7 separate regions of the Homo sapiens genome follow, and regions 1, 2, 4, 5, 6 and 7 are each linked to region 3. The links are contacts of gene promoters, found by promoter capture Hi-C in blood cells and fetal thymus (Javierre and others, 2016). All regions are on one chromosome and are shown on one strand. Each heading gives the region's core, a stretch centred on a gene start or on the middle of the fragment in contact. The rest is flanking DNA. Distances are from core to core; before and after follow the strand shown. Region 1 overlaps SH3KBP1 (SH3 domain containing kinase binding protein 1). Region 2 has its middle 12 kb from the start of MAP3K15. Region 3 holds the start of SH3KBP1 (SH3 domain containing kinase binding protein 1). Region 4 overlaps SH3KBP1 (SH3 domain containing kinase binding protein 1). Region 5 overlaps MAP3K15 (mitogen-activated protein kinase kinase kinase 15). Region 6 overlaps SH3KBP1 (SH3 domain containing kinase binding protein 1). Region 7 overlaps SH3KBP1 (SH3 domain containing kinase binding protein 1).

The links. The method cuts DNA at HindIII sites, captures the fragments that hold promoters and counts their contacts. A CHiCAGO score of 5 or more calls a contact.
Region 1: a contact is called between a fragment that was not itself captured here and the fragment with the promoter of SH3KBP1 in region 3, in 15 of 17 cell types (activated CD4 T cells, naive CD8 T cells, non-activated CD4 T cells and 12 more). The highest score is 23.4, in activated CD4 T cells.
Region 2: a contact is called between a fragment that was not itself captured here and the fragment with the promoter of SH3KBP1 in region 3, in 6 of 17 cell types (non-activated CD4 T cells, total CD8 T cells, activated CD4 T cells and 3 more). The highest score is 7.9, in non-activated CD4 T cells.
Region 4: a contact is called between a fragment that was not itself captured here and the fragment with the promoter of SH3KBP1 in region 3, in 15 of 17 cell types (activated CD4 T cells, non-activated CD4 T cells, naive CD4 T cells and 12 more). The highest score is 20.7, in activated CD4 T cells.
Region 5: a fragment that was not itself captured here is called in contact with the fragment with the promoter of SH3KBP1 in region 3 in 4 of 17 cell types (total CD4 T cells, naive CD8 T cells, naive CD4 T cells and 1 more); the score reaches 6.6 in total CD4 T cells.
Region 6: a contact is called between a fragment that was not itself captured here and the fragment with the promoter of SH3KBP1 in region 3, in 16 of 17 cell types (activated CD4 T cells, naive CD4 T cells, non-activated CD4 T cells and 13 more). The highest score is 16.1, in activated CD4 T cells.
Region 7: a contact is called between a fragment that was not itself captured here and the fragment with the promoter of SH3KBP1 in region 3, in 17 of 17 cell types (non-activated CD4 T cells, activated CD4 T cells, naive CD4 T cells and 14 more). The highest score is 18.8, in non-activated CD4 T cells.

What each region holds. Positions count from the first base shown.
Region 1 is chrX:19,610,001-19,614,128 of GRCh38, reverse strand. The region is part of intron 8 of SH3KBP1 (SH3 domain containing kinase binding protein 1); the gene reads left to right. Among named protein-coding and RNA genes, the nearest start is that of MAP3K15, 97 kb to the right of the region's middle. The HindIII fragment of the contact is 5,933 bases long and covers 1-4,128 here.
Region 2 is chrX:19,525,199-19,528,971 of GRCh38, reverse strand. No RefSeq gene overlaps it. Among named protein-coding and RNA genes, the nearest start is that of MAP3K15, 12 kb to the right of the region's middle. The HindIII fragment of the contact is 7,748 bases long and covers 1-3,773 here.
Region 3 is chrX:19,885,767-19,889,479 of GRCh38, reverse strand. SH3KBP1 (SH3 domain containing kinase binding protein 1) reads left to right here and starts at 1,880. Exons shown (of 18, transcript NM_031892.3): 1 at 1,880-2,173. The coding sequence starts at 2,170. RefSeq lists silencers at 1,429-1,728, 1,789-1,858, 2,339-2,478. The HindIII fragment of the contact is 9,463 bases long and covers 1-3,713 here.
Region 4 is chrX:19,627,278-19,631,459 of GRCh38, reverse strand. All of the region lies in intron 8 of SH3KBP1 (SH3 domain containing kinase binding protein 1), which reads left to right. Among named protein-coding and RNA genes, the nearest start is that of MAP3K15, 110 kb to the right of the region's middle. The HindIII fragment of the contact is 4,373 bases long and covers 1-4,061 here.
Region 5 is chrX:19,384,599-19,388,841 of GRCh38, reverse strand. The region is part of intron 18 of MAP3K15 (mitogen-activated protein kinase kinase kinase 15); the gene reads left to right. Among named protein-coding and RNA genes, the nearest start is that of PDHA1, 43 kb to the right of the region's middle. The HindIII fragment of the contact is 8,970 bases long and covers 1-4,243 here.
Region 6 is chrX:19,562,755-19,566,632 of GRCh38, reverse strand. The region is part of intron 13 of SH3KBP1 (SH3 domain containing kinase binding protein 1); the gene reads left to right. Among named protein-coding and RNA genes, the nearest start is that of MAP3K15, 49 kb to the right of the region's middle. The HindIII fragment of the contact is 4,351 bases long and covers 350-3,878 here.
Region 7 is chrX:19,543,735-19,548,053 of GRCh38, reverse strand. It overlaps SH3KBP1 (SH3 domain containing kinase binding protein 1), which reads left to right. Exons shown (of 18, transcript NM_031892.3): 15 at 2,004-2,132. Among named protein-coding and RNA genes, the nearest start is that of MAP3K15, 30 kb to the right of the region's middle. The HindIII fragment of the contact is 3,713 bases long and covers 356-4,068 here.

The DNA of each region.
Region 1 (4,128 bases), core at 1,174-3,673, 280 kb after region 3:
GTGAGCTGCTGCCAGGGGGTTTCACCTGAGGCAGCAGGGACTAGGAGTGGCTCCTTGGCACTCGAGGATGGCGCTGGGTCGCATGACAAATGCACATGAGTGTAATTAAGCAGCTCTCCTGGTCACATTGTCCCTCAGGGATTCGGACCAGGCCATATAATCACGATGATGACAATAACAACAACCAGCTCTTGTGTCACTCTTTATACTTTGCAAAGATTTTCACATGTGTCAGGAAACCGAGATCCAGGGAGCTTTCGTCACTAGGGAACAGCTTAAGTGTCACATGGCCCATGCTTGCTCTGTTCCACCTCTCTCTGAGTTCCACTTGAACATGTCAGGCAAAATAAGGAATGGCTCCCTTGTGACAAAGTGAGTTCCCTGTTATAAGCAGTATGCTAGGAGGGAGTAGATAACCTGAGATGTAGCAGAACGCAGAGGCTGGACTACACAACGCCTAATGCTCAATTCATTCATTCCTTAAAAGGAAAAACATCATTTGCATTTTATAGGGAAAAGTATATGTTACCCTAATATCTCCCTGGTGTTGAGGCATAGAGAAACCATTTTGGCCATTTTAAGGACTTGAGTTTGAAAGAGTAAAAATGATATGTCAGAAATATGATTTCTTTCCATATTCTTGCTAAGGGTTTAGGTCTACTTTCCCCTGAGTTCATGCCAATAGAGCTTATGTCTAAACAGCAGCTTTCTGGAAGCGTCATCTACATGCTGCTCCTTTTCTCATTTCTACCTCCCACCTCATTCAGAGTTCATCCCCTCACCTGCCTACAATGCTCTTTCTCATTTGTATTAGAGTCTAAAACTCCATGAAGGTGACTGTCGTCTGGAGTTATGCCTGGGGTCCTGGTGTAATTTATTAATAGCGCCCCAGATTTGGAAACAAATTGTAGTACTTGGGCCACGTTACCTCTCTCCTCAGTGGTCAGCTACTGCCTCACCATCCTGCCTTCACTCAACTTCTACCGTCTTCCTTGGGGACATCCACTTCCGCCCTGATGGCAGTCGGGCCTCACAAGCGGTTGATCACCTGCCCCTCCTTTCTGCCCCTGTCACTCAGTGGGTGCTGTCTTGCCTCACACCTCATATCACTGTTCAGTAGATGTTGGAGGGGCAGGGTTTGTTCCAAGCTCTAATTCCTGTATATTCTCTTCCATGAGCACAGCTTTCCTCTCTCCCTCTTCTCTTCCTTTACGCTCAGCAAGTCTGCCCTTGACCATTCTCATTGCCTCAGTTCTTGTCCTTGTTCTCTGCTTCCAGGCTGCCCAGCTTGTCTTGGTCCCACTTGTTTGTAAATCCATTCTAGCACTTCTGCCAGTGTTTCTGTGCCATTCTGATTCACTGTGTCTGCCTCTCCCACTAGACTCTGAGCTTGGGAGCCCCACAAGGACATGATGGTTTTCTTTTCTCCCCTGGATTCATCTCCTGTCCTGCACATTTTAGAAGTCTAGCCCAGCCATTGGCATTTTTTTTTAAAATTCCCAGGTGATTCTAAGTGTGCAGCCAGGTTTGAGAGCCATTTTAGGTTCTCAGTAAATAAACTGAGGCCAGGCGCTGTGGCTCACGCCTGTAATTCCAGCACTTTGGGAGGCCGAGGCAGGCAGATCACCTGAGTTCAGGAGTTCAAGACCAGCCTGGCCAACATGATGAAACCTCATCTCTACTAAAAATACAAAAAAATTAACCAGGCGTGGTGGCAGGTGCCTGTAATCCCAGCTACTTGGGGAGGCTGGCGCAGGAGAATCGCTTGAACCTGGGAGACAGAGGTTGCAGTGAGCCGAGATCATGCCATTGCACTCCAGCCTGGGCAACAGAGCCAGCCTCTGTCTCAAATAAACAAACAAATAAATAGAATTTGCTGCTATTTTATACTTTCGAAAGCACAGCCCTCATACAAGTCTCTTCATCTCTGCCATCAAAAGACTAGTTCTTTTGTCTGGTTTGTTGAAGAGGACTTATTTTCACTTCTCATTTTGCTGTTAAAATTATTCCTATTTCCCTTAAATTAGCTTGTATTGCTGGGGGAAAAAAATGCCTTGCTTCTCTGTAAATCTCTATCCCACTCCAGGCATCCTGACCCTGTGCCCACTTTCTGTCTTATAGCAGACTCTTTTCTTTGGCTATTTTTCTTGTTTTTTTTTTTTTTTTTTTTTTCTACTTCTGCTAGTAGCACTAAATCACACTGGCAGTTTTCTCTTTTGACTGTACTTATCTCATCCATGGACCTTGTGTTTATTCTTGTACCAATCAGAACAATTAGACATATTGTGTTCTCCCTTCATGCTTCCCTTCTCTTCTTTGAATTATGCAATGAGTAGCACTGTTAGTGTTTTCCTTAAGAAGCAGAATATAGATGGGCCATCCAAGCCAGTCATCACCAAGGGGAAATATGAGACATACAATGTCATTATGTACCATTTTCTCCCGTAGGGGTGTATGGGATCTAAAGTTATTCTGGGCCGGGCTCGGTGGCTCACACCTATAATCCCAGCACTTTGGGAGGCCAAGGTGGGCGAATCACCTGAGTCCAGGAATTCGAGACCAGCCTGGCCAACATGGTGAAACCCTGTCTCTACTAAAAATATAAAAATTAGCCGGGTGTGGCAGTACATGCCTGTAATCCCAGCTACTTGGGAGGCTGAGGCAGGAGAATTGCTTGAACCAGGGAGGCGGAGGTTGCAGTGAGCCGAGATCACGCCACTGCACTCCAGCCTGGGCGACAGAGTGAGACTGCGTCTCAAAACAAAAGCAAAAACAAAAACAAACAAAAAAACCACAAAAAAAACCAAAGTTATTCTGGATGGGCTTTTGCTCATTAACATTTTCTATATTGTTTTTCTCACATGTGAAGCAAAAAAGGTTCTTGGGTTATTATTTGCATAAGACTAAGATGAAGCATGGATTTACACTGTTTAGAAAGTTTGAGCCCAGGTGTGGTAGCTCGCACCTGTAATCCCAGCACTTTGGGAGGCCGAGGCAGATGGATCCCTTGAGCCCAGGAGTTCAAGACCAGCCTGGGCAGCACGGCGAAACCCCATCTCTACTAAAAATATGAAAAATTAGCCAGGCATGGTGGCATGTGCCTGTAGTCCAAGCTACTCAGGAGGCTGATGTGGGAGGATCTCTTGAACCCAAGAAGTCAAGGCTGCAGTGAGCCGAGATCATGCCACTGCACTCCAGCCTAGACAATGAGAGTGTGACTCTGTCTCCCTGCAAAAAAAGATAGTTTTTTTTTGAATGCCTTTTGTGGGCATAGTTCTGTATCAGATGACCTGAAATGAATGTGGAAGGAAGACCAGTCCTCAGCTAAGCAAACCATTCACACATGTAAAGATTTCAGATTATTGCAAAAACTGTTAATGGTTCTCTCCTCTTTTGGTACTAGAGCACTCATTTGATCCCTGTTACCCAAAGGACCTTGCGTAATATTGTATGTCTGTCTTTCCCATACATCTCTAAGCTCCCTGGGGTTAGAGATCATGTTCTCTGCATCTGCATGTTTAAGGTTTGGTGCTTACAGAGCTTAAATATATTTTGCATTTAATAGATGTTTATTGAATTGAATATCATTAATTGCAAATTAACACTGTACTGAGCATTAGAGAAAAGATAAGGCATTCATCATAGTCAGTTTCTTAAAGGTGAGTTTCAAGTTGAGTTTTGAAGAAACCTAATTCCAAGAGTTAGGGTCAAAGAAATTCTACTCCCAGCTTCCTTCATAAGTTTTTCTGTTATCATTGATAATGTTTGTAACATCCTAGGGTCAGAAGAACCTCAGGAGCCACCAAATCCTGCCACCACTCCTGTTCATAAATCCCTTCTTTGAAGACTGATGCTAGTATTCAGGGGGTGATGTGACATGGGCAGGACCAGACTATCTACTTGGACTTCTCAATGTCATTTTTCCAGAAAGATAAGCATCCTTTCATGTTGAAAGACTTTTGGACCCTTGTTTTGTTCTGGGTAAATCTGAACTTGATACTTCAAGGGTCTTTGGTTTTTTTTGTTGTTAGTTGGGGCTAGAATTTATAGTCTGTGACTAAGGACTGATTTCCAAAATCTGCACTCTCTTCCCTAAGGAAGACCCTAAGGGGTCAGCTTATCTTTGTA
Region 2 (3,773 bases), core at 1,134-3,633, 360 kb after region 3:
TTATTTATTTATTTATTTTTGAGATGGGGTCTCACTCTGTCACCCAGGCTGGAGTGCATGCAGTGGTGCCATCTCGGCTCACTGCAACCTCCATCCCCCGAGCTCAAGGGATCCTCTCTCCTCAGCGTCCTAAGTAGCTGAGACCACAGATGCACGCCACCACACCTGGCTACATTTGTGTGTGTGTGTGTGTGTGTGTATTTTTGGTAGAGACAGGGTTTCACCGTGTTGCCCAGGCTGCTCTTGAACTCCTGAGCTCAAGCAATCCACCCACCTTGGCCTCCCAAAGTGCTGGGATTACAGGCGTGGGCCACCATGCCTGGCCTATGTCCACATTTCTGACCTATCCTTAAGATAATTCCAAAATGTGGAACGTGAGTATAAGTTGCCTGATATTTTTAGCAAAAATCATTTTTGGCCAATTATAAACTTAGTTAATTATTAACATTAGCATATACAAGTGACTAACCACCCATCTTTCCTTAAAGTTGCATTTGCCTAAATCCTGATGGGGGTCAGGTCTGGATCTCTTTTTCCCTGATTGGTCACTGCTCCAATGTCACCTCATCAGAGAGGCCCTCCCTACCCCTCTAAATAAAAGAGCAACTTTAGCCTTGACCCACCCCCAGAGTCCCCATATCAACACCTCCTTCATTTGTTTTCCCTTGCTTGCTTTGTTTCTGTTTTCAATCTCCCCTCCCTTAGAATGAAACCACTCTGAGGATAGTGACTTTTCTGTCACTGCTCTATCCCCAGCACCTAAAACATTGACAGATATATATTAATAGTAATCACTTGATATGTAGTTGACTGAATAGATGAATTGGTAATTGTGACTGATGTCAAATGCAATTTATTCTATACATTTGAGCAGCCCGGTTTGACCTTTACTAAAACTTTAGTACAAAACTGGGGCAGTAGGGAAGCTCCACAGCAAAAGAAACAGATACAAAGAAAGCCTTCAGAGCACTTTACTTCTATATGAGTCTCAGCCAACACCCGGACCCTAAGGAGAGTGCTTCTTGCATTACGATGGTTCTCAAAACCAAGTTCATGTCATCTGAACACCATTTTCTCTAAGACGTCCAGTCACTACTTAGAAACCTGTGGCTACCTCTGTTTTAGAAAGTAAAGTTTTTTTTTTTTTTTTCCTATACTCATTCTGGAGGAAAAAAAAGAAATGAATTCTGGGCTGAAAATGGTGGCTCAAGCCTGTAATCACAGCAATTTGGGAGGCCGAGGCAGGTGGATCACTTGAGGCTAGGAGTTCGAGACCAGCCTGGCCAATGTGGTGAAACCCCATCTTTCCTAAAAATAGAAAAATTAGCTGGGCATGGTGGCACATGCCTGTAATCCCAGCTCTTTGAGAGGCTGAGGCGAGTGGATTGCTTGAGGACAGGAGTTTGAGACCAGCCTGGCCAACAAGTCCTGTCTCTACTAAAAAATACAAAAATTAGCCCAGCATGGTGGCACACACCTGTAATTCCAGCTACTCAGGAGGCTGAGGCATGAGAATCACCTGAACTTGGGAGGTGGATGTTGCAGTGAGCTGAGATCATGCCACCGCACTCCAGCCTGGGTGACTTGCAGGCTGCACTCCAGCCTGGGTGACGGCAAGACTCTGTCTCAAAAAAAAAAAGGGAATTCTTTGCTGACTCTTGATTCTTCTCTGAGGTCAGCTGAGAACCTAATTGCTCCCTCTCAGGGCAAACCATCTGCCCTCAAAGTGATGAGTAAGTGGGAAAGGTAGATAAGCGCTGAGCTTCTAGGAAGAGCCATAGAGCAGTGGTTCTTAGAATGTGATCCCCAAAAGAACAGCATTAGTATCACCACTGGGGAACCTGGTAGAAATGAAAATTCTTGCGCCCTGTCCCAGACTTCCTGAATCAGAAATTCTGGAAAGCAACCCAACAATCTGTGTTTTAACAAGTCCTCTCAGTAATTCTGATGCACGCATAAGTTTGAAGACCACCATCATGGGGGGATCAACTCATTCCCAGTGAGTTGTGTGTAGAGTAGCTGACAGCAATCTTTTCCAGAAATCTCTAGTTGTCCTTGGCTGAAGCAAAACAAGGTGCACTACTCAGAAATAATGCCGTAGTCTATTTGGTTGAAACATGTGAAACTAACATTTTTTTTAGATCAAATATGGTTGAATAGATAGGACTTCCAGTTTCAGCTCAGAGATATGGAAGAGCTGCATGAAATCCCTTCCTGTGCTAACAACAAGAAAAAGTCTGGACAGACTGGAAATTAATAGAGAACTAAGTTCAAAGAGCAAATGGCCATTTGAAAATCTGGGCCAGGTGTGGTGGCTCACACCTGTAATCCCAGCAGTTTGGGAGGCCGAGGCGGGAGGATTGCTTCAGCCCATGAGTTCAAGATCAGCCTAGGCAACATGTCAAGGCCCCGTCTCTACAAAAGGGACAAAAAATAGCCAGGTGTAGTGTCGCCTGCCTGTGGTCCCAGCTACTTGAGAGACTGATGCAGGAGGATCACTTGAGCCTTGAGGCTGCAGTGAGCCGTGATCACACCACTGCATTTCAGCCTGGGTGACAGAGCATGACCCTGTCTCAAAAAAAAAAAAAAAAAAAAAAAAAAAAAGAGGCTAGGCACTTCCTGCAAGACACAGGATCTGAGCATTTGGTTACCAAGGGCAGAAACCACCAGATGCCATAGAACTAGGTAGAAAGGTCAGGCTAGAAAATTTGACCAATTTCTGGAAGCCAACTGTGGGCTAGCTTGAGAGTGTGCAGCTCCTAAGAAAGACTGTCATCCTTCTGCAGGCTTTTCCTCCAGGAACCCCACCTGGTTCTCACAGGGAAGATCAGGGGAAATCCAGAGAAAACTCATGGTGCTGGCTCAGGAACCACTGAGAAATCTACTCAGACCCTTCTCCCTTAAGGAACAAAAGGCTATTCTGCATGGGGAAAGACATGGTCCGAGGGCCCTGGTGAATTACCATTGCAACTAGGGGAGGGAACTGCACTCAACTCTAGCTCTTCATCTCAACTAAAAACAATTCAACCTTCAGAGAAAAGGGCTTCAAGTCTATAGACTGAAAACACTTGTAGATACCCACTGCAGCTGGGAGAAGGGAATGGGAGGGAGCTCTGTCCCTGGAGGAGAAACAGAAACAACTGTGAAAGTTACACCCGAGACACAAGCCCACTGTGCACTCCAAAGACTGAAGTTTAGAATATTAGAGAATCCATCTCCCAACAGCATGCTAACAAGCCTCCAGGAATAACAATAGCAGGGAAGACTGCAAGAGACAGACGTTGGGGAGCAGCACAAAGGGAAGCCCCAAAGCCAAGAGAGGTGGGGGACAAAAAAAGATCACTAGAGGAATCTGAAGTTTGTAATGTTCATAGGAAAACAAATCTCAACACAGCCCAACTCCTGGCTGGATCAACATAAAGTCCCACACTAAAGGTTTATTATCTTAGTATCTGCTGCCCTATATACAATGTCCACCTTTCAACAAAAAATTACAAGGCATGCCAAAAGAAAAGAAAAAGCATTCTGAAGAGACAAGTGATCAGATTCAGACTTAGATATGGCATTGCTATTAAAGTATCAGAGAGAGAATTTTATTTTATTTTATTTATTTTAGATGAAGTCTTGCTGTGTCACCCAGGCTGGAGTGCAATGATGTGATCTCGGCTCACTGCAATCTCTGCCTCCCAGGTTCAAGCAATTCTCCTGCCTCAGCCACCCGAGTAGCTGGGACTAAAGGTGCATGCCATCATGCCTGGCTAATTTTTCGTTTG
Region 3 (3,713 bases), core at 631-3,130:
GCCACCGTGCCTGGCCCACTTCACATTCTTTTCTTTTCTTTTTTTCTGAGACGGAGTCTCGCTCTGTCGCCCAGTCTGGAGTGCAGTGGCACGATCTTGGCTCACTGCAAGCTCCACCTCCCGGGTTCACACCATTCTCTTGCCTCAGCCTCCGGAGTAGCTGGGACTACAGGCGCCCGTCACAACACCCAGCTAATTTTTTGTATTTTTTAGTAGAGACCGGGTTTCACCATGTTAGCCAGGATGGTCTCGATCTCCTGACCTCGTGATCCGCCCGCCTCGGCCTCCCAAAGTGCTGGGATTACAGGCGTGAGCCACCGCGCCCGGCCTTCACATTCTTAATCTCCGTGTTCTCTGATCCCTTTTTTAGGAGTCTGATATTGATGACACTAGGACTTCAATTGCAGCCTCTGTGTGGATGGGCCTCTTGTCCCTTGATTAGTCTCCTATTTCGATCGGTTTGACACACATGAACGGTATTTAGAAAGATGATGCTACTGATCTCTTGTTTGTAAGACCCTGACTTTGAGGTTTTTTGAAAAACTCATGAAACAGTTATAAGAACAATTTTCTACAGAAATCCCAGGACGGTAACCAATTTACAAGAGTTGCCCCGCCAACACAGGTGAGGTATGGAGACAGCCCCTCTCTTGGGTAGGGGGTCGGCTTTCATTTGTCCCTTTTGAGTCCACTAGCCCTCAGCCTCCTCCATTTCCAGGGGCCACTGATGTAATTTCTCTATTGTCTTACGTGCTCTTTGCCTAAATGTCTCCCATGTAGTTCACTATCGCTTCCTACCACCAGATGGTGGAAAGGGAAAAGGAAATAACGGGCCGGTAGAGGAATGTGGTGGCAGGCAGAGTATCTATGGCGAAAGGTGTGGTGGTGAATGGACCCAAAACGGAGCTTCTGAATTGCCCACGAATGCCCACGGATTCCCTGTTAACATTTTAGCGCCCACTCAAGGGTCGGCCGTCCAGGTCTGGGAGTCAGTAAGGCACAATAATGCCTGCTAGGGAGGGAGCCAGCCCTCATCTCAGCGGATTCCTGGGAACGTCAGAGCTCGGGAACATTCCTGAACACCCGAACCGCACCTGGCCCAGGCACTGGGGCGGGGCTTAGGCGGGTCCCAGCGAGGCGATGCGTCCCCTCGGCCCCGCTGCGTCCTTCGCCCGTTTTTCCCCACGTCAGTGCCACCGCCTCCTCTGTGCGGAACTCGCACCTGGCCTGCCTGCGTTCCCACGCCCCACCGAAGGGACGCCGCGTTTCTCTCCCTTCCAAGGGACCCTTTTCCTTCCCCTCCAACAGCCCCCCGGGAAAACTCATTCCAGATTGCCTCGATGCCCCAGGGCCACCTGCCATCACCCTGGTCAGGCGTTTGGCCCCGGGCCTGCCCTGGTCTCCATCCCCAGCCCGTCCTCCACCTCTTGTCGCCCCCTCCCGCTCAGCCCCCTTCTCCTCCTTCTCCACGTGCCCCTGCACTCCCACGCCCCTCCCCCAAGAAGCCCCTCTCCTCCGGTCTCGAGGAGTCTCGCGGCACTTCCCGGGGCGTCAGCCCAGCCGCTGCGGGTGGGTGGCAGCCGCGCGGAGAGGGGTGCCTCTGGCGCGGGCGGTGAGGAGGGCGCCCAAGCCCCTCAGCCGCAGGGACGCCCCCGGCGCCTGCCCCGACGCGGCCCCGGCCCCGGCCCCGCCCCTCTCCGGCCCCGCCCCCGCCCGGCGGCCGCGCGTCCCCGGCAGGCGGAGCTGCAGGAGCCTCGCGGCAGCGCTGAGGAGGAGGGGAGAGCGGGCGGCGCGGCCGCGGCTGCCGGGCGCTGGGCTGGGCGGCGCTGTTTTTTTTTTTTTTTTTTTTTTTTTTTTTTTTTTTTTTTTTTTTTTTTTCGCAATTTCCACTCGCGGGGAGCAGGAAACCCGGCGCAGCCGGGCGCATTGGGCCGCGATGCAACAGCAGCAGCAGGAGTCGCCCCGGGGCAGCAGCGGCAGCAGCAGCAGAGGCAGCAGCGGGCGGCGCTGAGCCGCCGCCGCCGCCACTGAGGAAGAAGCCGGCCCAGCCGCCGCCGCGTCCGGACCCTCGCGCCTGGATCCCAGCGCCCCGATCCCGGCGCCCCAACCCCCACGCCCGCCTCCGCCAACTTTCACGCTGCCTCGGCGGCCCGGCCCGGCTCGACGCCAATGGGTGAGTGGGGGCCGCCCGCGTCCGGGCGTCCACTTCAGCCTTGAGGGCGGCGCGCCAGTCCCAGAACCGCGGAGCCCGGGAGGGCGCCCCGGGGGCAGGGTCCGGACGGGGGACACCGCGGTGGGCGCCCTCGCCTGCCTCGCGCACCCCCATTCACTCCCACTTGCGCCCGTGTGCCCGCCGAGCCCGCGCGCGGCGCCGACGGGAACCCGCGGGGGCCTGAGCAGACGATCACGGGGGCTGGCCCCGGGCGGCTCGGGCTGAGGGATGCAGGGGGTGTGGTTGGTTTTTCGGGTGGGCGGGGAGAGTTTTGTCTTGGCCATTTTTGCACCCGAGCGCGCCCTCCTCTGCGCTGCGGACACGGGCACCCGGACCTGGTGGGCTCCGGCCCTGCGCGGGGCTGCTGGTGTCTTCCTGGTCCTGTCTCGGGGGAAGCTGGAACCTCGGGGTCTTGGAGGGGGCTGGGTTGCCTTTGCTGGGGGTTGACAGGGGTTGGGGGGTGGGGCGGGAAACGCCCCAGTTCCTGGTCTGGCTCGCAGTCCCGGGGTCCAGAGCACCTGACGCTCCTCTCCTTGCGCCCCCCTTCCTCCCGGCCCCGACCCTTTCGCTGCTGCCTTCCTCCAGCCTGGCGAGCTCTCTGCTCCGTGATGCTAAAAGGCCACTTCCCATACTGTCCTTTAAGTCTTCAGGGTCTGGGACCTGGAAATGGTGATCCGGTCTTTGATTTACTGAGTAAACATCAGTTCGAAGTAGCCAACTAACCTTTGAACCCCCTGGGTCCCATTTGATTTAGACCCCGGAGCATTGGAACCACCTTGCTGCCCAGAGAAGCTGCCACTTTATTGGCAAGGCACTTATGATTACTTGGGCTATTAAATGTTTGGTCTACCCAGGTAATGTTCTTGCTGACAGCCAGCTTCTGTTTTTCAGCCTCTGGCAGATTATTTTTGGATGTTCCTAGGCCAGGCATAGGAAGGCTGCAGATAATAATAAATCATAATAAAGTGAGACCTTTCTGTGTTCAGGTAATAGGATTCCAGTACACTAGTCAGGATGTTCAGAAAGCCTGAAGGATTGGAAAAGAGGAGGTTTAACCCAGTCCGTTGTTGACAGGCAAAGTTAAAATCCCATTTGTGGTCATTTGCCAAAAAAGGTTTTCCTTTTCTAAGTAGTGGTGATCTGTTGTCCCCTTGGCTTAAATGTCACTTTTTTCACAGTGCCCTTCTCTCCCACCTGTAGTCTAAATTGGTTCCTGTTCCATTTTCTCATACAACACCTTTTTTTTTCGTAGCAGTATTACATATTTGTGCGTAACAGTTATCTCCTCTACTGTAAGCTCTGTGACCATAGGGACAGCACAGTGTTGCATAGTTTGCTCAGCACTTTTGGTGTGTGGCACAGAGCAGGACCTAAATATTTGTTGAATGAATGAATGAGGGGCATGAAATCCTCCTCCTCTGCTGGGGACAGAACACTTAGCTCACTCTTGTTTTGCTTTGGCCCATAAGATGATTTAGTTCATTGGCAGAAGTATATACTT
Region 4 (4,182 bases), core at 626-3,125, 260 kb after region 3:
GTTTGCTGTTCAGATCAAAGACAGGTAGAGTGCCTGAGAGAATTTTTCCTGTCTCGTTTGGGCTAAGAAGATTGAATGATTTTATTATTATTAGAGCCAGAGCCCTGTAAATAAACAGAGAGCTATAAAATCTGTGTGAAGTGATGCAATTGAACAAGGGCCTTGGCTGTGTACTTTGTGTGCTTTCACACAATGGTACTCACCAAGTAGGTGGTTGAAAGATATATTATTTAAGCAATACCCAGAATATATGACTTTTTCTCTGAAGAACAGCATTTTTGTGATGGTCAAATATGGTAAGAAGCTGAATGGTCTTGAAGATGTGTATGGTGGTTTTATTCTTGTATTCAGGGGAGTGACAGGGAACTTAGCACAGTTCCCTTAGCACAAGTGTGACTTGGGAGATCATCGTGGCTGCCTGCGCTCGCTCTCGCAGGGCTGGGAAGCCTTGGCAGGGTGGAGGATGCAGGGAAGGGGAAGAGATTGCAGGTGCATAGAGTGGGAGTAGGCCCAGGGTCCCGCCGACTGTGGCCATTACTGAGAGGGTGGAGACTGTGGTGTCACCTGGCCCTACCCCTCCCCCAGGGCTTGTCCATAAGGTGATCAGTAAGATTTGCCTTTGTTATCAAGAGGTTACCTCTAAGACATGGCTTTAGAGATTGTGTGTTTTAAGAGCCAAATCCAAACATGTCAGGGAACTAATGACCCAAGAAGTTAACTAGCTTGCCACAGGTCAGGAGTTTTAGGGAGAAAGCTGGTCCTCTCATGGACTCCATATAACAGTGGTATGGAGTATATAATGCTTTCTGGAACAGCAAATCATTCCCTGTTTTGCAGATCACCCAAGAACTCGTCCATCTTTTTACCTGTAAAGTATTCTCCCCTGAAGTTATTTCAGTATGTCTCTGTAGGTGTTGAACATGGCAGGAGGAAATGAGGGGAAGAATGCTTCCCTTGTTGTTTTCTGCAAATGAGGCAGAAGTGATTCTTTTCTGTCTCTTTCAGATTGCTTTCTGACACACAGTGCATTTCCTATTTTTAATCAGACCTGTAACCAAACAAGCGGAATAAGGAAGTTGTTAAATGGGTGTGAAGCACAATACGAATGCTGTAATAATTAGCACAGATAATTTGGTTTTAGAAATACTGGGAAAGGGCTAGAGTGCTTTTTTCCCCCTTGATGATAAAGCAACCAGAGAATTAAATAACTGCTATTCTTTGCAGTGGGAGGGAGCGGGGGACTCACTAGCCTGTTTTTGTTTTGTCTTTGGAAGAGAGGGAGCCTCTTTTTAGTTGAAAACCTGGTATGTCAATAATATTTAATGAGGTCTGAGAAAAGACACACATCTGTTTCTATTTTGACATATTATACTCCAGTCCTTCCATTTGAATACATATCATAATGAGAACACATTCATCTTGATGATTTTGTTCCTAACCTCCCAGCCTGAGATCCAGTCTGATAAAAATTAATGTGATTTTTCTAATGACCTTAGTCAGAAAGGGAGTATCTATCGGTCCCATCCACATGGTACAGATAAATGAACAGGTAGATGTGGCAAGCTGCTTTCAAGAGTGTTGTGAAGGTTACATCCCATTTCTCTGGTTTCATAGATTAACGTATTTGAAAGCAATTTAGAAACTGAAGCAGCGCACTGCTATTAATATTATATTTGCAAAACATGACGTTGTCATCTCTGCTGTACACTTGGTCTGTTGACCTGACTTTCACATTGATCCAACTCCTCAGGCCTAGAGTTCTCATATCACCATTTTGACACTTGGTCCTCCTAGTCCCACCCTGCTCCCACCCACAAGCCTTTCTCTATCCCTGCCACTTCCTGCCCTGCAGAGCTAAGCACAGGCTTGAGTTGTTCTGTATCTGTCCAGGCCAGGTGAGCAAGGACCAGGCTTCCTCCATCCTTCTTTCTCTATCACCCACCATAGCACCCGGTCTGGAGGAGAGCCCTGGGGTAGTGAAGGATGGAGGGATGTTTCCCCCCACTCCAGTGTCCCCTACCCACTTCATCCCTAGCACCTCAGCCCCTTCTTTTTGTCATTCTCTAACACTGCTGTGCTCACTTACCCTTCTGCACCAATCAAAATCTTTAGTAACTTTCTTTTTCTTTATTGTAAAATCCAGATAGATGATCCTAGCACTCCTTCACCCGTCCTGACCTCAGTCTGTCTTGGTGGCCTTGGTCCATGTGGCTGTTCTGCAGGTACCCCCCGTATATCCCCCTCCTGCTTATGTGTCCTCACTAACTTGACTCAGACCATGTTCCTGATGCCCGAGATGCCCTCTGCCTACCCACATTGCTATTTTTTGTTTGTTTTGCTTTATTTTGTTTTTGAGACAGGGTCTCACTCTGTCGCCCAGGCTGGAGTGCAATCGTGTGATCTCGGCTCACTGCAACTTCCACCTCCCAGGTTCGTGCGATTCTCCCACCTCAGCCTCCTGAGTAGCTGGGATTACAGGTGTGTGCCTGTACAGTAAATCATGCCTGGCTAATTTTTGTATTTCTAGTAGAGACGGGGTTTTACCATGTTGCTCAGGCTGGTCTTGAACTCCTGACCTCAAGTGATCCACGCGCCTCAGCCTCCCAAAGTGCTGTGATTACAGGCGTGAGCCACTGCAGCCGGCCTAGCCACTGCACCCGGCTTCCAGTTTGCTGGGTTTTTTTGGATAGCTAATCACACAGCCAGTCTTAACTCATGCTGCTTGGGCCCATTTTAGAGCTTGCTGCTTAAGAAAATCCTTTGTGCTCTATCATTTTGCTTTTATTATTTTTTTATACAACCTGCTGGGAAATCAAATCTCTTGCTATCCTGTGCTTGTGCAGATTTTTACTTTTATTTCCATAAAATGCCTGCCAGCCTTAACCTAGCATTCCAGTTTGCCGGAAGCGGTGTGTTCAGATGACAAGTGCCATGTAGGCTACCAGCTCCCAGAACCAGGGTTTGAATCCCAGCTCCACTGTTCCTGGCTGTGTCTTTTCGGGCATGTTGCTTACCCCCTCTGAGTCTGAGTTTCCTCAGCCATAAAGCAAGGGCCATAAAGCTGACCTCACAGGGCTGCTGCGAGGATTTACTCTGGCAGGGAGGAGTCTGTCAGTGGCACCCATAATTCTAGGAATTGTCACCCAACCCTGGCTGCTCTTTCTTGGGCCCTGGAAGTGGGAATGGAAGGGCTGTTGTGTCTGAGCCCAGTTTGCTGCTGAGGCTGGAATGCCATGACGTTAAGTAGGTTAAAATGGTGAAAAATCCACCTAAAATAGTTAAGTGTTCACAGTGGAGGAGATTTTAGCAAGAATTTGGAAAGAAAACATGCCATAAATATTTTGCTTGCTGAAAGTGGGAAGAATGGAGTCGGAGCCTGTAAAACCCTGCTGACATTATAGAAGATTGTTACTCTTCCTCTAAGTTAGGAATCGCCCAGAAGTTCATTGAGATGATTGTATACTATTGCTATTATAAAATGAATGGTTTCACCATGATCTGTTTAATATGCATTCTGATACGCATATTTATTGGATGTAGGAGTTGAGGTGAAAGACCTGAACTGCTGTTCTCTAAATTCTGTGTTCGCCGTAGAGGTTCCTGATAGACCCCGAATTCCTCTGACATTTACTTTGGTATCATTGAAGGTGGTTTCCCTTTGCCCTGCTTTTCTGTGCTGTAGCAGGAGTCACAGAGCAGGCTTTGCCCTCATTTTTAGCCCCAGATTGTCAGTTCATGTGGCTTTCTAGAAAATGAGTCAGACACCTTTAGTGGGTGTGTATAAGCCCTCTGCAGTTCCTGAAATAATGTGCAAAGACCCAAACTATTTCTGTATGTCCCTGGAAGCCAGGAGGAAATGTGGCAACCTGAATGGTTTGTTTTCTAGTTTATTTATAAAGAATTCTTGTGAATTTAGGAACATTTCCACTCGTGCAGAACACACCTGTGTTTAGCTTTTATTTCCAGTCACTCAAAAATAACTCCCGTGTCTGTGTTCCTGCCACCCCCATCCCTGCCTTCCTGATTTGTGCTCAGAGTGTGTTTGAAAAGGTTCCGAAGCTTCTGGGTCTCATCCCAACTGGAGAAGCTTCCTGGAGAAGGGCTGAGGGCAGCTTGGCAGGAGCTATGCCAGGGCTCAGCTGCAAGGGTGAGATGGCCATTGGAAGGTGTCCCACGCTGTGG
Region 5 (4,243 bases), core at 93-2,592, 500 kb after region 3:
TTCACATACAAAGCGTGTGTGAACATGTGTTTTCAGCCTTCTTGGGTAGATACCTAGAGGGAGAACTCGGGACAGGAAGTCTGTTCTCGTCTGGCTGCAAACATCGTTGGTTCAAATCCTGGCCCAACCACTTGCTAGCTGTGTGACCTTGGGCATATTACTTAACCTCCATGTGCCTCAGTTTCTTCGTAAGTAAAATAGAAATGCTCGTTGTACCTACTCATAGGGTTTTTATGAGGGTAAAGTGAGTTACTGATGAAGTGCTTTGACTGGTCCCTGGCACATAGCAAGTGCAATTGAAGTGTTTGCTAATTAAATACTCGCTTGTACTTAGAAGTCATGGGTTATTAGAGCTGGAAGGAGCCTTTGAGAGAACTGAGTTTGTGTGTGTAACTAACGTGTTGAACCCATTGGACTCAAAGGGTGTAATCACAAAAGCCACTGGATTTTTCTCTCCCACTTTTCATCCTGCCTGGGGCGGGAGTTCTTTCCTTTGACTTTTCCAGCCACCCTTACATAACAGAGAAAGTCATAATGACACTTGAAGGAGCGCACACAGTCTGAATTCAGGAATTAAAAAGGACTCATCGCTTGAAGCCGGGAGGCGGAGGTTGCATGAGCCGATTGTGCCACTGCACTCCAGCCTGGGTGACAGAGCAAGACCCTGTCTCAAAAAAAAAGATTCAGGCTGATACTGATCAACGCTCTGGTCCTCATTCAAAAGTCAGACCCCTCTCCCGTCTCCCTGCAGGCAGCGACCTGTGGTCAGGAGCTGGGTGTTGTCTTTTTCTCCCTAATCACCAGCTGCAGGAAGGAGAGGACAGGGGCAGGGAAAGTTGTTACTTGACTAGCACTGTTGGAAGCTGGCTTTGCGTGCTGTGGGCCTGGCTGATGTTTAGTTATCTTCCCTCGCTGGCTCCCTCTGGATGTAACTCCTGTGTCGTGGGCAGGGGCCTGTCCTTTGGCTGACAGCCCCCTCCTCCCAGTTATTTACCCCTTACATCACCTCCTCCTTCCATCTCTTTCTGTTGAGGGATTCAGATCGTGGAGGACTGCGTTTGAGCAGGAATTCCTTTTCTTTTTTCTTTATTTTTTTATTGGGCAGCCCCTGGAACCAGAATAGGTTCTGAGAGAGACTCCCAGGATTCCTTTTAAGAAGACCATATGCTGGGCACGCCTGTAATCCCAGCTCTCTGGGAGGCTGAGGTGGGAGGATCGCTTGAGCCCAGGAGTTTGAGACCAGCCTGGCCAACATAGTGAGGCCCCGTCTTTACCAAAAATATAAAAATCAGCTGGGTGTGGTGGTGCGCACTTGTAGTCTCAGCTACTCGGGAGGCTGAGGTGAGAGAATCACTTGAGCCCAGGAGAATGAGGCTGCAGTGAGTCATAATTGTGCCACTGCACTCCAGCCTGGGCGACAGAATGAGACCCTGTCAATCAGTCAATCAATCAAATAAATAATACAAATAAAAGATAAACCCTAAGGCAGTATTTCTGTAATAGGGTCCCCCATCTGGTGTCCAGAGTTCAAGCAGCTTCAGCCCACTGTTGAGAGGGTGTGGCAGTATCCCCACACCTTACAGCCCCCTGTCTGCTGCTGGAAGTTAACCTTTGCTCACTTGGGTGCCAGTCCACTGTGTAATTTACCTACAGGAACACATACACATGGAGCTGAGTCGCTCAGTGAAGCCCCCTTCAAAGGCTTTGGGTTAGGAACAAGTGGCGCCACCTTTCCACCAGGCTTATCCCTTGGTCAGGTCAACTAGGGTAGTCCCCTGGACTATGGGAAAATCGTACCTTACTTTTCTTTTCTGTACTTGATTAATATGAAATCTTGAAATTTAGGCTCTAACGGTATCTCCAAGGGCCTGTGGAAGATGTGATGATCATAAGTTGGTATTGAGTGGCTTGAGTTGCCCTGGGCCCACGCCCTTTTGGGGACAGTCCTGCCCCAAATCCTGTAACTTGGGAGAGGGTAGGCAGCCCAGCATAGCTCTCTCTAAAGAAGCTGTCTCAGCACCACCCCCCTAAACTACTCTGTCAACTCTCTCAGCCCCTTGATCAGATTAGAAGGTCCCTGGGCCTCGGTTATAAACTTGTGTCTTCTGCTGTGTGTCTTCTTTGCTGGTAATCTGAAAATCCTATTGGACAATTCTCCAGGAGTCCCCAGTGGATTTTGTGCCCTAGGGGGGCTGAGTCAGTGCCTGTGGGTCTCTTGGTCACCTTGTTCTGAACTCTGCACCACTGCACTGGTGTAGGTACCTAAGAGCCGTAGTGGGCTGTGACCAGTGACCAGTGTGGTAGGGCATACCTTGGAGGAAATATAGGTTAGGGAGCATATGGGGCCCCAAGAGAGCCAGATTTTTGTTTGTTTGTTTGTTTTGTTGAAATGGAGTCTTACTCTGTCGCCCAGGCTGGAGTGCAGTGGCGCGTTCATGGCTCAGTACAACCTCCACCACCCGGGTTCAAACGATTCTCCTGCCTCAGCCTCCCAAGTAGCTGGGACCACAGGCACACGCCACCATGCCCGGCTAATTTTTGTATTTTTAGTAGAGACGGGGTTTCACCATGTTGGCCAGGCTGGTCTTGAACTCCTGACCTCAAGCCATCCACCTGCTTCGGCCTCCCAAAGTGCTGAGATTCAGGTGTGAGCCACCGTGCCTGGCCTATGAGAGCCAGATTGAAGGAAACCCAATTTTCCAGGATTTGTGCGTGATTCAGATGCCCCACAATGCCATCTTCACTTGGTTTTCTTGACAGAATCCAGCCTTTGGGTTAGCTGATGTACACACCCAACATGCATCCTGCCAGGGAGTGTTCCCTTGAGTATCTGAAATAGTTGTGTGCATTTATCTCTCTCTGTTAGCTGTTCTGAGAGTGGATGGTTACCTTGTGAATACAGTAGTGAATAAAATGGAGCACCCAGTTTTCCATTAGTGCCCTGTACCTTCCAGTTACATGGAAAGATGCTCCAATATGGCTTTGGAAATCCTTACACGTGCTACTCTTATTCAGGCAGCTTTTTTTTTCCAGCAGCGCTTCTTCTTGATGTAGTGTATGGATGAGTGATGTCATGGTGTGTAGTTCTGAACTTGAAGGTAGAAGATATGGGTTCTAGCCTAAGCGAATCCTTTAGCCTCTCTGAACCTCAGTTGCCTCCTGTGTAAAGTAGGAATAATGGTAGATAGTGCTTCCTCTGCCTAACCTTCCAGAGTCGTTTGAGTCAGATGGACAAGGCTATGTGGAGACAATTGGTAAGCCATCAAGTGCTCACCAGGAGTCAGATTTGTGGCAGGCAGCCTCCAAAATGACCCCCAATGATCCCTACCTCCTGATAGTCACACCCTTGCGTAGTTCCCTCCCGTTGAATGTGGACTGGACTTAGCAACTTGCTTCTGATGAATAGGAAGAAGTGGGAGTGATGGTGTGTGACCTGGACACTAGGTCATAAAAGGCAGTGTGCCATTCCTCTTTCTCTCGGATCAGTCTCTCTGAGGGAAGCCATGTCTCAAACCAGTCCTATGGAGGATCCCATGTAATGAAAAACTGAAGCCCCCCACTAGCTCTATCCTTAGTGAGCTTGGAAACTGATCCTCCAGCCCCAGTCCAGCCTTCAGATGACTGTAGCCCCAGCTGACATCTGGACTGCAACTTCCTGGGAGACCCTGAGCCAGGTCCACCCAGCTAGTTAGTTGCTGCTGGATTTCAACCCTTAGAAACGCTGTAAGACCTAACTATTTGTTGTTTGAGTTGATAGATTTGGGGGATCATTTCTTAAACAGCAGTAAATAACTAATATGAATGTCATTATTAAATCCTTGCCTTTAGAAAGAGTGCTGTTCACCATGGCTCCATATTTTTAAAAATCTGCAAATTTATTTTTAACTTTTGTGGGTATATAGCAGGTATATATATTTATGGGGTATATAGACTATTTTGATACAGGCACACAATGTGTAATAATCACATCAGGGTAAATAAGGTATTTATTACCTCAGGCATTTATCCTTTGTGTTACAAACAATCCAGTTATGCTCTTTTCAGTTTTTTAAAATGTACAGTTTTTTTTTTTTTTTTTTTTTTTTTTTTTTTCCCCTGAGACAAGGTCTCACTCCCATCTGCCCAGGCTGGAGGGCAGTGGCGTGATCTCAGTTCACTGCAGCCCCAACTTCATGGGCTCAGGTGATCCTCCCACCTCAGCCTTCCAAGTAGCTGAGACTACATGTGCACACCACCAACCCTG
Region 6 (3,878 bases), core at 1,276-3,775, 320 kb after region 3:
AGGGGATTGTCAGAATGAGCCTAAGTTCCGGTTCTACCACCGCAGTTTCGTATTTGGGCCCTGTTTTAAGCCAGGGTGGCTGGTTGGTGAAGGTCATGTGCGACCTCAGGAGGCTGTCTTGTCACCTCCCTCATGTCAATAGGAAGGGAGGTATTCTCCCTCCTCCAGAATATACAGGATAATCTGTCTTGCTTGCTAAGAGCATTCACCTTTGACCTTTGCATTCTTTGGGTCTGGAGATGTCTATGATCGCTATCATGAAAATATGAATCACATGTTTTTCAGTCTGATGAGCTAGTGTGGAAATATTGGGGGTATTGATGGGGGGGCGGGTTCACCTATAGAAGCTTTTCATGCTGTGGAAACTAAGCACAGTTGCATATATTTGGGAGCCCAGAAATAGAGTACTGAGGTTTGGTTTTCTCTCTCTCTTTGCCACAGAGACATTAATCCTAGAAGGCTATATCTTCTCAAGTTAATGGTATTTTTGTTTTGAGATAGTCTTGCTCTGTCACCCAGGCTGGAGTGCAACAGTGCAATCATTGCTCACTGCAGCCTCTAACTCCTGGGCTCATGCAATCCTCCCACCTCAGCCCAGGAGAATCGCTTGAACCCGGGAGACAAAGGTTGCAGTGAGCCGAGATCACACCACTGTACTCCAGCCTGGGGAACAAGAGCAAAACTCCATCTTAAAAAAAAAAAAAAAGGTCTCCAAAACCTAGTAATCATTTTGTAATGTAAAACGTCCCCTTAGGGTGTTAAATGTGTGTATTGTTGTACACCATTTTAAAAAATCAAGGTCCACCTGGACTTTGATCTGTAGCTGATTACAACCCTGGTGAAACAATAATCCCAAAGCGTTAGAAAGGATTAAGAGTGTTTTGTAAGCATGTTTGGGGTAGAACATGCCTTTATAACTTTTAATCCTCGTTGAGGTACAGTGTGAGTACAGGAGCTGTGTGTGGAATATCCTTGTGTTAGAATCATTCTGCTAATATAGTGGAGAACAAACCCTCCCCCTTCATCTCCCCTCTTCCATCGTCCTGAGGTTCTAGTGTTGAAATAAGAGCAGTGAGAGCAAGCAAGAGTAAGGAAAGAAAGAACTAATATTCACTGGGTGCCCACTAAATGTTTTGTCTATTTTTTTCTCACCGTCCATAGCCCTATGAAGGATGTGTAATGACTCATGTTTTTACAGTGAAGGAACAGGGAAGAAAGCAAGCTGGGGAAACTGAGCAAGATTATCTGGCTAGTAAGAAATTGGAGTTGAAGGCCAGGCGCGGTGGCTTACACCTGTAATCCCAGCGCTTTGGGAGGCCAAGGCGGGCAGATCACCTGAGGTCAGGAGTTCGAGACCAGCCTGGCCAACATGGTGAAACCCTGTCTCTACTAAAAATACAGAAATTAGCTGGGTGTGGTGGTAGGCGCCTGTAATCCCAGCTACTTGGGAGGCTGAGGCAGGAGAATCGCTTGAACCCGGGAGGCGGAGGTTGCAGTGAGCCAAGATTGCACCACTGCACTCCAGCCTGGGGGACAAGAGCGAGACTTCGCCTCAAAAAAAAAAAAAAAAAAAAAAAAAAATTGGAGTTGAAGCCAGGTCTCTCTGACCCATGAGCCCAAACCTTCTAGGTCCACATCAGCATTTCTCAACTGCTCTCCCCAAGGGGACATTTGGCAATGTCTGGAGACATTTTTGACTGTCACATCATAGGGGTGGGGGTGGAGATGCTACTGGCATCTAGTGGATAGAGGCCAAGGATGCTGCTAACCATCCACCAGTGTGTAGGATAGCCCCCACAGACAACAAAGAATGACCCAGCCCCAAATGTCAATAGCACCGAGGCCCAGAGAGCCCAGTCTGTGTTAGGAACAGGAAGAGGACAGGCTTCCCCTGCAAGTGCAACTTGTGTTCCCTGGAGTGGCCTGTCTCATTTCCTGAGAATCTCTATAAAACCTAGTTTGAAAATATTTCATATACAAAAAAGTAATTATATTTGAAGTAATTAAACATCAACCAAGGACATGACTGTGACCTTTGTGAGAGAGAAAGAGGAAGGGGGGGGAGAGAGAGAGAGAGGCGAGAGAAGAGAGGGGAGAGGGGCCATCTTAAGGCTTGCAGCAAGTGAAATGATACCATTTGAGTCTGATTTCAAATAGAAAGAGTATTGGATTTGTGATTAGATATTTGCCAAAGATCAACTACCCAGTGTTTAAACGGGTATTACATAAAAGGACAATAACAAATTTGATCAATACTAAGTTCTAAATCTGTACTCTGTATGGTAAAGTTATACAGGAGAGCAAGAGAGAGCAATTGTAATAGCGACCATTAACACAACATTTTTGTGAATGTGACACCAAATGTCTACAAACAAGTGATTACATTCTTACCTTATTTTGCAATTTCTACCTTTCATGATAATAAATCACTTCTAAGGGTTTCTCATACAAATTTTGAGGAAAAATTCAGATCTCCTGACTTGGGGCTATTGGTTTTTCTGTCCTGTTTTTAAAATACATATTTTAAACTTCCCCTTTTGGAGCCAGAGAGCCAGTTATTGGTCCTTGCAGCATGTCAGATCATTGAGCAATTGCTCAGGTTCAATAAAACAAGATATACTGTGTCCTGCCTGCCATTAAAAAAAAACAAAAACCCATGAATGACACTTGGAGTGTTCCAGATTGACTACTGGCTGAGCGTGTGTGTGAACAACAGCCGCGCCTTCCAGCTCTCTCGGGATTAGTTGCTCAGACATGAGAACTTTCACTGAAGAGCCACGGCTGGCTCCTACAGACACTGTCTCCTTACTGGCAACCTTCAGACACAGCCTTTGGGACCAAGGACATGGTTGATGTTACCTGTGCTGAAGAACAGGAGATACGGTTGCTACTGGTCTACAGTCAAGTCTGCATATGACGGGCTGCGGTGCCCATGTGTGGACGTGTGCAGCTCCGGTCCCTATCTAGGGACACAAATCGTGATCAAACTTAAATTTTTGTCAGGAGTAGCTGAAAAGCACTATACATTTCTCAAGTGTGATGACAGAAAGCAAAAGAGATTGTGCTGAGGGTCAAACGCTTTATACAAAGGAAGTGAAACAGGTTGCGCTTCTGATTGATGGGTTTTTAACCCAGGCAATCCTCTGAGCATTTTGGGTTCCTTCCTCGAACTTACAGAGGCGTAGCTAATTCAGAACAGCTTCTGTGGATGGCCTTCTCCCTGCATCGCCCTTGAGCCCTCCCCTGGTTCCCAGCCTCTCAGGCTCACAGTGGAGGTGTGCTGCTGAGGAAACAAGGTCAAGTTGGCAACCAGCACTCATTTCGAAAGGCATCCTCCAGTCCTACAGGAGATGGTCCTTCAGGGCCCTTTGAAGGGCCTGATCTTGGGTGTAAAATGAGCATCTCCACTTAGACTTTCTCAGTCAAAGATGTTGATCCTCACCAGAACCGAGGTGCTCACCTCTGCCTGTGCACCTTGCACAGGGCGGTCCTGCTGGCCTTTGGTGGTCCATCACGGTGGCTGGGTTTGTGCTTAGTTATGAGGGTCTTCACGAACATCTTTTACCCCATAACATCCCATAAGCGCAAACTCAGTAAACATTGAAAGTGCCTGTAGGAAAAGCCTCACAAATGCTATAGAAACAGGGGGAGATTACGTCAAAGTGGGGACATGATGGCAAATGTTGCAGAACCTCACTGCAGCAGTGCATTTGGTGGTATGAATTATTCCAATATACAGAGAGCAAATTAGTACTGTCCTACCCAAGTGCTCTATACCCACCAGCCTGCAAAATAGCTGACCTGAGAGAGGTGGAGGGACATTTAGGGAGCATCAATTCAGATGGCTGTTGGCTTGGAGAGGGTCACAGAGGCTAGTA
Region 7 (4,319 bases), core at 963-3,462, 340 kb after region 3:
CACTGCCTGCAGGAAGCTTACGGCACAATGACTTGAAGTTTGGCATTTTATATGAAGTGATTTCATTTGCAGACTTAAAACAAAAGGATATATTTGTGCTTTAAAGTATAAATATTATATTCTCTTCATTCCCATTCATCCCTACTTGGATGTGTACATTGAATTCCTATTTACTCTTCTTCAGTTAGCACCTGTGGATTTTTCATAGGCAAGTGGAGGCTTAGTGGATATGGGCGTATTCCTCAAAGGCCACTGGGGGAAATGATGGAGGAAATGCACCAGTCATGATTCCCCAGCCTGGGGCCTCTGACCCTAGCTGAAGTTCTTTATGTTTATAGGACTCAAAGAGCAAGCTTTGATTGGCAGCTCATGAACCCTAGGTTGTAATGGAGGGAACTGGCTTTTTGAATAAAATCTCAAAATGAAAGGATTCAGGCATGGTATGGTGGCTAAGCGTTAAGCCTAGATTAATAAGAAGGCTTGGTGGTGGGGGAAACGTTATTCTAGGTAATTGGATTTTCAGATTAAATGAAGATTAACAAATAAAACCTGTTAAATTGAAAAATTTGCTTAAAAATTCCCTAAAATGCATTAGGTTTCTGCCTTAAGTAAACAGAAGAAAACATACGATATTTTTGGGTATAATTTTTCTATAATGACGCCAAGTGGTGATTTTAAATGGGACTGTTTTTCTACCACCAGGGTAGAAAGCATAGAGATGAAGCTGAAGATGAGCTTGCTCAAAGAGATCTGTGGAAGATTCTTCATTATAAAGGATTCCTTGCTATAGGAACTCTTATTTTAATTTGCTTTGTTCTAAAATAGGGAAATTCTAGCCCAGTGATCATCTATGACCAAGTGAATTCCAGTGAATTGGTCCAGAATTTTTTTTTTTTTTCCAGACAGGGTCCCACTCTTTTGTCCAGGCTGGAGTGCAGTGGTGCAATGTCAATGGCTCACTGCACCCTCGACCTCCGGGGCTCAAGTGATCCTTCCACCTCAGCCTCCCGAGTAGCTGGGACTCCAGGTGCACACCACCATGCCTGGCCAATTTTTGTATTTTTCGTAGAGATAGAGTTTCGCCATGTTGCCCAGGCTGGTCCCAAATTCCTGGGCTCAAGAGATCCTCCCGCCTCATAATCCCCGTGTTGGGATTACGGTCGTGAGCCACTGTGTCTGGCCTCATCTGGCTTTTTTATCTTTATAGTGATCTTCACAGTGAGGCAGAAAGAACAGGGGTGTCGTCCTATATTTTACCAAAAGATGCTGCCATTCTGTAAATATACTATAGCCATACAGACTCCAAAATGAATGTTGACTGTCAGCAATAATGAGGGCAGAGATTTAGCAGCAGGTACCAAAGGAGATATGAGCTTGTTGCACTAGCGAGCAGGGCTGTGCTCTCAAGCTGAGGAAACACTGGTCACTGGACCACAAGCCTGGTGAGCCCTTATCCCTGGAAATGGTTTTCTCTCAGACACATCCTTTAGGGCACTTCCGTATGCAGCAGATTTAGTGATCATGGAAAAGGTCAAGGAAAAGGAAGAGGAGGGAATGGAGGAGAGGCAGATTAGAGCAGCCTCTTGTTGACCTGTGTGTTCTTCCCTGGTAGACTGTCAGCCCTGTGAGGGCAGGCATCCTGTGTGGCATGTCACTAAGTCTGCAGTACAAGCTCACTGCAGCTTTTGCACATGGTAGCAAATGTTTAGAGGAAGGAGCAGGAAAGGATGGACGATGGATGCTTGCAAGGATGAAGTGATTGATGGACATCAGTGGCAAGATCCCTGGTTTAGGAAACCTTGCTTCTTAGTCGCAGTTCTGCCACTAATCAGCTATGTGACTTGAGCGCGTGCATAACAGCACACTTTTTTGCCTCACAGGGTTATCGTGAGAAGACAAAATAGCAGTGTCGAGTGCTTTTAAAGCATACAGCATTATATTAACGAAAGTGGTGTCAGCTAAGGTGTAATTCTGACAAAAGCATTTTCTTTTGGCTTTATCAGTCATCCCTTTCAAGCCCTGATATCTTCGACTCCCCAAGTCCCGAAGAGGATAAGGAGGAACACATTTCACTTGCGCACAGAGGAGTGGACGCGTCAAAGAAAACTTCCAAGACTGTTACCATATCCCAAGTGAGTCACCAGCCATGGCGAGGGTGTCCCTGTCATTTCATGCATGTGCTAATGATGGGTTATAAACCAAACAAAGATACACAAACAGTGCAGGTGTTTGTCATTCTTCAGTGACAGCGATTCTGTTACTCATCAAAATCCCCAAGGCATGTTGCAGTCTCCGAAACTAGGCAGAATCCCTGAGATACAAGTTCAGTTGTTTATTTCCCATGTTGTTCTCTTGTGGTTTGATCTCCTCTTCATACCATCACACACACGTTCACAAATACCTTCACACACTACCACCATCACCACAACCAGAACAATTTAAAAAGCCGTGAGACGTCTAGAGAGAAGACATTAAATATATTAAATGCTGTGCCCTCTGCCCACAGATCTTGTCTTTTATGTTCAAAGCTGGTCACAAATTATAGTTGGAAGATCATAAATATAAATAACTAATGTGGTCTCTTAAAGAAAATTGATTTGGAGTCACATTCTATGATAAATTTATAGTCTAAAAACACTTTAATTTTATTCCATGCCCAGAGAGTAGTATAGATACTTTATTAGTTTATGAGAAACAAGGAAGACATTTAACTTTTAGCTACTGCATGTAACTTTTGAGGAGCATCTTGTACAAATTCTCTCCCTGTGAATACGAACCAAGATTTTAAAATTCCATTTTCTCCCACTAAGAAAACCAAGTCAATTGGAATTATTTTCTCTGAATATTAGCAACTTCTTTCTGTCTAAAAGCAGAAAACTATAGTCACTTGAAGCAGGAATAGCACAAAGAAATCAAAGGTTACCGTGGAATTTTCCTTCTCCATAGATTTAAGAATTTACATGTATAGATTTTCTTAAAAATCTGATACAGTAAGCAAAACGTGATCCTATACAACAGATCAGTTGTAATTATTCACAAAACCAAAGCATTCTTTCTTTATAAAAGGATTCCATCTGCAGAAGTTGGATTTAGACCCGTTTTTTCTGGTGACCATAGGTATAGTTTCATTTGACATCCCTGGGGTGTCTCTACAGTGACATCTACTGGTGGACAGTGGGTTTTCGTGGTTCTGATGTACACAGTTGTATCCCATTAGCCTATTTCTCTTCCCCGGAGTTGTCATGTTGTGCTCTTCAGTGCTTCTAGAAATTCCACTTGAACTAATTTGATCAGGGAGGGTGGTGGCCTATACTCTGTGAGGGCTTTAAAATTGCTCAGTAGCCGAAATGGGCCGGGAGAGCGTGTCATATAGGAAATGCCAAGAGAAGCATTGATTCAAGAAGTGTCTGGAAGTCAGTCAGTGCAAAGGCACTGGTGGGTCACAGGAGTATGGGAGGTCCGCAAGGATGCAGGATGGGCAACAGGAAAAGGCATAAGCCCAGGAATAGATGACAAGCAAAGGAGAGGACAGGAGAGTGCGAATCTTCAGACTCAGGCAGCCACAGTCACAGTGCTGGACTTGAGGGATCCAGTTGATAGGGAATTGATCCCCTGTTCTGCCAGTTATTACCTATGAGTCTTGGGGAACTACTCAGCCACTTCTCTAAGCCTCAGTTTTCTGCTTGGTAAAATGCTTGTGCCAACCGATCGTTGCTCAAATTGTCTAGCCGGTGTCCGGCATGTGATCATTGCTCCAGAAATGTCAGTTCCTCTTCCCTCTTACTCTGACTCCTACTAATGATAAAGCACAGGCTGGCGGAGCGCTATTCCTGGCAGCAGAGAGCACTTTTCCTCAATGGTAACTTGGCAGAAAAAAGGCGAGCAGAGAGGCTGGGAATGATGGCCCATCTGCTTTTGGCTTTCTCTGCCCAGTCTCTCCCTCTAGCACAGCCTGAATCCAGACTCTGCCTCCTCGCCATGCCAGCCAAGCCCCTTTTGGCTCCTGCGCTGGGGTAGCCTGCTGGGTACCTGCTGCTGGAGGGAGCCTCACGGCCGCGTTGCCAAGCTTCACCACCAGCCTCTACTTCTGCCCTGCTGCTCATCGCCCCCGCCTCCCAACATCCTGTCCCACTCTTTTCCCTCCTCGCCACCTGCCTCCCAGCTCCCTTGTTGGTGCCTTCTCCCCCAGGGGCCTACTGGGCACCCCTCTTCTCTCTCGCCCATGACTGTCCTTCTTCCTCGGCCCTCCTGGCCTCCTCAGGACACTTCTCCATCAGGCCTCCCCCGCCAGTCTCCTCCACCTTCAGCCTGGCCCTTCA